Regions from separate parts of the Homo sapiens genome. Here region 1 is linked to region 2. Evidence: promoter capture Hi-C in 16 types of primary human blood cells and fetal thymus (Javierre and others, 2016). All regions are on one chromosome and are shown on one strand. The core of a region is centred on a gene start or on the middle of the fragment in contact, and the rest is flanking DNA. Distances in the headings are between cores, read along the strand shown.

The links. The method cuts DNA at HindIII sites, captures the fragments that hold promoters and counts their contacts. A CHiCAGO score of 5 or more calls a contact.
Region 1: a fragment that was not itself captured here is called in contact with the fragment with the promoter of ADAM28 in region 2 in 2 of 17 cell types (total B cells and naive B cells); the score reaches 10.9 in total B cells.

Annotation. Positions count from the first base shown.
Region 1 is chr8:24,244,057-24,247,767 of GRCh38, forward strand. No RefSeq gene overlaps it. Among named protein-coding and RNA genes, the nearest start is that of ADAM28, 48 kb to the right of the region's middle. The HindIII fragment of the contact is 768 bases long and covers 1,411-2,178 here.
Region 2 is chr8:24,292,620-24,296,240 of GRCh38, forward strand. It overlaps ADAM28 (ADAM metallopeptidase domain 28), which reads left to right and starts at 1,450. Exons shown (of 23, transcript NM_014265.6): 1 at 1,450-1,576. The coding sequence starts at 1,531. It overlaps ADAM7-AS1 (ADAM7, ADAMDEC1 and ADAM28 antisense RNA 1), which reads right to left. Exons shown (of 6, transcript NR_125808.1): 5 at 3,535-3,621; 6 at 3,195-3,438. The HindIII fragment of the contact is 10,253 bases long and covers 1-2,137 here.

The DNA.
Region 1 (3,711 bases), core at 545-3,044, 48 kb before region 2:
TTCTAAAATTAATTCCAAAATAATTCCAAGACATGATCTAGGGCAGTGGTGGAATATCTTTAGAATAATTTAAAAGGGAGATAACCTCCTATGGTGGATACTTCGAAGTAAAAAACATTCACATGGATTTGCAAATGCTGCATTGTTTGAAAACATTCTCATTTTGTCAATGCAGTCTTATTCAAAATATACTAAATTTGAAGTCAGCTACTTGAGTTAATATCCTGCCTATATAACTCATCAGTTGTGTTACATTGAGCAAGTTCCAGAACTTCAGTGACTCGATATTGTCATAGGTAAACATACAGTAACAAAGACTTTCTTAAATGCATGATTTGAGGATTATAAATATTATTTATTTAAAGCACAAAGCTCAGTGCTGGCCATAATGAAGACATCCTGCAAATGGTAGTTATTCCTATACATACTGATATGGTTTGGCTGTATCCCCACCAAAATCTCATCTTGAAATCCCATGTGTTGTGGGAGTGACCTGGTGGGAGGTAATTGAATCTTGGGGGGCGGGACTTTCCTGTGCTGTTCTCCTGCTAGTGAATAAGTCTTATGAGATCTGATGGTTTTAAAAATGAGAGTTTCCCTACAAAAGCTCTCTCTTTGCCTGTCGCCATCCGTGTAAGATGTGACTTGCTCCTTCTTGCCTTCTGCCATGATTGTGAGGCTTCATCAGCCATGTGGAATTGTGAGTACTCCCTTAAACCACTTTCTTTTGTAAATTGCCAAGTCTCAGTTATGTCTTGATCAGCAGCATGAAAATGGACTAATACATGTATTGATATCAAAACCACCAAAGTAGGAGCAGAAGTATAAGGATCTTGTCCCACTCATACTATATTGTACTACTTTCAATTTTGTCAATCAGTAGATTGTAAACTTTTTTAAGGAATAGAGTTTATACATCTTCCAAAGAACCCAGATATATGATGAATATGAAATTGTTACTCAACTTTATGAATTTTTGCATTCCTATTGAGCACTTTAGATTGCTCACATAAACATTAAACTAAAAAAGCAATCTGAGAGTGCTTACATTTCTCTTATTTTGGTGTTTCACAAAAATATTTGATCACTAGGTGGCAGCAATACGTAGAGAAGGAGCCTGAAGATCTGACGTTCGCTTGCAAAAAGTTGGCTCTTCTGCACAATCACAGCCAGCCTGTCAGCCTCCCGGTTGCTGTGATGGACCTGAGTCACTTCCCATCACAAAGAGCATTTCCCAGCTGATGCTAAGGACCCAAGGCCATAGCATCTGTCTTTACCTCCTCAACAGAATGGGTAGCTTGTCATTTGGGGATTTCAAATATTTTTAGTAAAAAATGTTACTGAATAAACAGTGGTACTTTAAAAGTGCTGCCCATTGATCTTAGGAGTGTTTCTATTTCAACTCCAGTAAGCTTGTCCTCTTTCTGTAGCTACATCATAAGCTGTTTCTATAGCTGTTTCTGTAGTTACATCATGAGCCCCTGTGAGGATATTTATTTTGACCTTTCAACATTTTTTACTTACACATTCTCATCATTCTCCAAATTGAGTTATAATGGTCTATGGAAGATAATTGTTTTAACCAGTCATAACACAGAGTATAGAACTAATGGAGATTTAATTTTTTAAATTTTAGATGAATTCACAGAGTAGGTGCAAAGACAGCGCAAAGAATTCCCACATACTTTCCTGGTAAGGATATTTTACCTCTCTGTATTCCTGGTGGCTAGCTGTATGCCTCACACTATTGAATGAATGATTTAATACCAGTGGCCCTATAAAATATTGTACCTGTTAATGGACGATGAAGAATGATGTTTCAGTCAGGTTGGGCTGCTACAACCAAATATCATAAACTAGATGGCTTACCAACAAAAGAAACTTATTTTTCATGGTTCTGGAGGCTGGAAGTCCAAGATTATGGTGCCAGCATGGCTGGGTTTTGGTGACAGCTCTCTTCCAGGTTGTAAACAGCTGACATCTCTTTGTGTCTGCATATAGCAGAAAAGAAGTGAACTAGCTTTCTGGCCTCTTCTTATAAGGGCACTAATCCCATTCATGGAAGCTCTACCCTCATGATCTATTACCTCTCAAAAGCCCCACCTCTAAATTCCATCATATTGGGAATTAGATTTCAAGGAATTAATTGGTTTTAAGGACATGCCATGGTCCAGATGAAGCTTAGAAACCAGTCACTATCCAAAGAAACATAAATTTGAAAGTCATTTTCATGTGCTTCTCTTATTATCATTTCAAGACCTCTTTCACATCTGCCTATTTGCATTTTATCCCAGTTTTCAACCATTTTTACACATTTACTATTTACTGCAATCTTTACTGTGATCTTAGGTGAAACAGACATTATTCTGTTGATTTTACAGACAATTGAGGTGACAGAGAGGTTAAGTAACTACATGAGAATTAAAAAGTGTAGAAATTTAAATAGTTTGACTTCAATTTACTGTTATTTCTTCTTTGCCTCATTCTTCTTACCTCAATACAAATGTAATGAGTGCTCTATTGAAAACAAATTTTAATCAGAGGTAAGAATGAGTTAAGCCCTAAGGCTTTGCACAGCATTTAATCTGAAAGCAAGAACCTTAAATACAATCCTCCTACTTTTTGAGTAGAATGGCTCCAGCTGTCTTGGCAGGGATAACCCCTTGTCAATAACATTTCAGAGTTTAGAGATTTAAAGAATTTATTTTCACCTGACATGCATGGCATACCTGAAACCACCTTTGCAAAAATTATAACAGTGAGAAAATTATGGCAGTGAAAGGGATTTGGCCCCCTGACTCCATTTTGCTTCTAACCTCCAAGCTGCACTTGTTCATTCCTAGGCACAGGCTAAACTAACTTTGGGAGGAACTTAGTTTACAGCTTAACTTTGAAACAAAGATAATAACAGCCCTTTCCGGAAACAAGCCCCCTTCTAGCCTGGGGACCAGACTGCCTTGTAAAACTAACATATTAGCCACAAGATTAGAAATTATGATTTAGGAGTTATGAAGCTAGAGGCCACAGTATTCCAAACGTTCCCAGTTGCTCCTAGGGATAGCATCACAATGGTAAATCCTAAGATTGATGCTTGAGATGTTTTTTAGACCCTTAGTTCTGATGCAACAGCTGGCGCCAACCAGATCAGTAATCTGGCTCAACCAGTTGTGCAATCCCACGCAGGAATAGAAGGCAGCAAGAAAAACCCATTTGACCCCGTATGATTTCATCTCTGACCCAACCCATCAGCACTCCTCCACTCCCTGGCCCCCCACCAAACTATCCTTAAAAAGCCCCCATCTCCAAATTTTCTGAGAGACTGATTTGAAAAATAAAACTCCAGTCTCCCATTCAGCTAGCTCTGTGTGAATTAAGCTTTTTCTCTACTGAAATTCCCCTGTCTTGATAAACCAGCTCTATCTGGGCAGCAAGCAAGAAGACCTCATTATGTGATTACATACTTCTTGTAATAGTTAGGGCTCATTTGGTCTCAAGTATCAGAAATTCCAGACCACTTTGACTTTCACATTAATGAAATCAGTTTCTAACTTAAAGTCCAAATATGGGACTACCTTCAGGAGAGACTCAACTCAGATCCAGACGATGTTACTCAGGACCTGTCCTCACTCTCTCTTTATCCTGCTTTCTGCAGCATTGACATCTCTCTCAATGTCCACCCCTCCATTCTGCAGCCCACTCCACTTACCCCAA
Region 2 (3,621 bases), core at 200-2,699:
CAGCGTAATTTCTATTCCTTAGGAATTTCATAATTATTTCTATTCTCCCAGAATCTTTTCAATAGAAATGATACTGGGAGTACAAGTCAGCTAAGCCAAGGGAAAGCATTAGAGTATATGACTAAGAGCCCAGACAACACATAGTTCAGATTCCACTTCTACCACTTACTGGATAGGTGACTTTATCTGCTTAATCTTCTTAATCTATACAATGAGGGGACAACTGATTCTTAATCTTTTGAATTTTGCCTTTAAAACCCCAAATTTTCACCTGCAAAATGATTGTAAATGCATAATACATGAGTATCATAAAGACTAATAAAATAACAAGTACAGTAGATTTAGGAGAGTACCTGTATTAGTCCATTTTCATACTATCACGAAGAAATATCTGAGACTGGGTAAATTAAAAAGAGGTTTCATGGCCTCACAGTTTCACATGGCTGGGGAGGCCTCACTCTCATGGTAGAAGGTGAAGGAGGAGCAAAGACACATCTTACATGGAGGCAGGCAAAGAGAGCCTGAGCAGGGGAACTGCCCTTTATAAAATCATTAGATCTTATGAGACTTATTCACTATAATGAGAACAGCATGGGAAAAGCCCGCCCCTTGATTCAATTATCTCCCACTGGGTCCCTCCCACAACACATGGGGATTATGGGAGCTACAATTCAAGATGAGATTCAGGTAGGGACACAACCAAACCCTATCAGTACCTAAAACTTAATAAGCAGCTCAGTTGATATTAGTTATTTTATTGGTTATAAGTATGATTTTTAGACATGCCCAGTTTAGCCTTACTACCACCAGTGACAGATCCTAAAATTGTATCCTTTGGGTCTTGAATCCTTCTTCCACACTCCTCATTGCCAGTTATGACACAAATACCCCCAAGGATCTAAAAATTATTGTGCTTATATTGTCAGACATTCTTATTTCAGGATAGTTCAAACTTCCTGAGAGTACACTTGTGTGAGGAATAGAACATAAAATAATGGAAAAGAGAATGCTATATAGTAATTAGGTTGAATTAGAAATTGCTTTACATAACCACATTATGTATGTGGGGGAAAAATAACATTCTTAATAACTTTTTTCCTACAACTGTATATATATAAAAATATATTTAAACATATATTTATATATCATATCCGTAATGTAAATAAATGTCTAGCATGTTTTTCAAGACTCATTAATGCAGTTGCCTCTTTCCTTGTAGCTTATCTGGCTATAGTAATATGTTGGAAATGTACTACTTTGGAGTGGGGAGTATGGCAAAGGAGAGCAAAACAATAGTTCAGATCAAGTAATCTTAGAGCCAGGAGGCAGCCAGGACTTCCGCCTGCTGGGCCATTGTTGCAGGACCACAGCTTCGAGGTTGCGCAACACCTTTAGTAAACACTTCCTGAATCAGAGACAAGAATGAACCAGGGAGTTTCATTCTGTCTCACTGGAGAGGAGGCAGGGACAGACCCAGCAGCACCCACCTGAGCGAGAAGAGCAGACACCGTGCTCCTGGAATCACCCAGCATGTTGCAAGGTCTCCTGCCAGTCAGTCTCCTCCTCTCTGTTGCAGGTACATATTTAGCTCTTTTTCAGGTTCTATTGAATGCATTAGCGAACTTTTCATAGTCTCCTAATAGTTTTATTGTATAAACTATTTTGACTTTTTTCTTTTTCTTTTTTCTCAATCAATCTTACTAACCAGTTGGGCTGGTTTTAACCTGTTGTTTGGGGGCTGCGAGTGATACAAAGACAATGTTAAAAAGAGGCAACAAGAGGTCTTGAACCAATATGTATGCATCTCATCTGAGAATATACAGAAATAAAAGGGACAATTTCATACAGCACAATTTAAATCATGAATATGATTTTTGACTGAAAAAGTGGAATTCATCAAAACCCAGCTTGTCATTTAAAGAATGGTAAAGATGTGGCAGATTTATTTATTTATTACTGTGTACAAGGCTTAGGAAAATACCTACTATTATTATGGGAGCCAGTTTGGCTCTTTCTGTTTGAGTGTATATTTTTGTATTTACTCATTATTAGTAATAATACGTGTGACTAACTGGAAATAATTAATATTTTTTATTTATAAGGTACTGTGATATTACTTAACAAAATATCTCTGTTAAGCTTAAATTGATAATTTACTTCTATTTTGCTGATTATACCAAACATTTAAAAATTTGAAAGGAGAAAAATACTACTTCCTAACAGGAAATTATGTCTAGCAAGTCTCTCAATTTCTGGTAAATTCTCTAATTAGACTTTGGTTAAATTAGATTGGGTATTGTGATTCTTCAGCTTCTATTTCCAGAGCTTATTTAACTCAGCACATGAACTGCAGTGCCTCGAATTCCTCCCAGTAAACCTGTTCTTGGGTCTTAGAATGTTTGCTGGGACCTGGGGATGGGAACAGATTATCAACTAGAGGTATGGGCTTAGGGAGGGAAAAGTTTTCCTTGTCCATGCACCCTCTTAGTACTTTGTTGCTAAAAATGATTTTCCTGTGTCTCACCTGTTTCTGATTTGTTTTCAAGACTTATAAAAATTTCACTTAACCTAATATCTTTAAATATCGAATTATTTTCCTTTTGTTTCTGTGTATTTTTGCTTTATATAATATGTACCTATATCTGAACTGAACCTTTTCCCACTGTGCTGTGATCCTCTTCATCTCTAATGCCTTTTGCTTTGATACCTATTTTGTCTGATGTGAACGTGTTACACCAGCTTTCTTTTGGTAAAATAAGCCTGAAATATTAAAAATATATATAAAACTCATGCCAGGCATTTAACATTGACCTGAAATTCCTACTTTTTGAGGCAGACTTAATAGAAATGTTTTTTTCTCTCCGTTCTCCAAAAATGCTATCACCAAGAGCTTTTCCAGAACCCCCTCTAAGCTGAAATACAAGAACTGCTTGGGCACTAGCTTAGTTGAAGAGCGTAAAGATCAAGCTGGATCCATTAACAGAGTCACATGGCTAACACTGGGGCCCATGCACATTACAGTCCTTTTGTGCAACTGGGCACACTAATCAGTTCTGCTGCCCCGACGGTGCATGTATAACATGGCACCAAGAGATGCAACTTCCTCTGATGTCAACTCTAAAAGTGTGATGTCACCCCTCCTTTAACTTCTAGCTTCTATTTTTAAGGGTGTCTTTTTGCCACTGAACTATCCCTGTTATGATTCCCATTTGGGTTGCCTTTCTAGTCAGAATATAAGAAGTAAAGCAATTTTCATTTCCCAGTTCTTCCTGTTTGTTCTCTGCCCCCATCATCAAAGCAATACATATGTGCCCCTCTGACCATGACTTCTGCCCAGTCCCCAGATGGTTGAAATAAAAGAAAGAGATGTAAAATAAGGCTGGTTGTGTGCAGTGAACTTCACAATCCCGAGAAAAAATTGACTTATGGGATTTCATCCTAGGAAAAGGAAAAACAAATATTTAAAAGGATGTGACAGGTGTTTGCGGGGTGAAGATGTAAATGATTGCATCAACAAAGGAGAAAGGTGCTTACCTTATTACAGCAGAATACTCAGGGGGTACAGCACTTTTTGAAATTATTTTATTTCAAACTACCAGTTCTTCCTTGCCTTTATAAGGT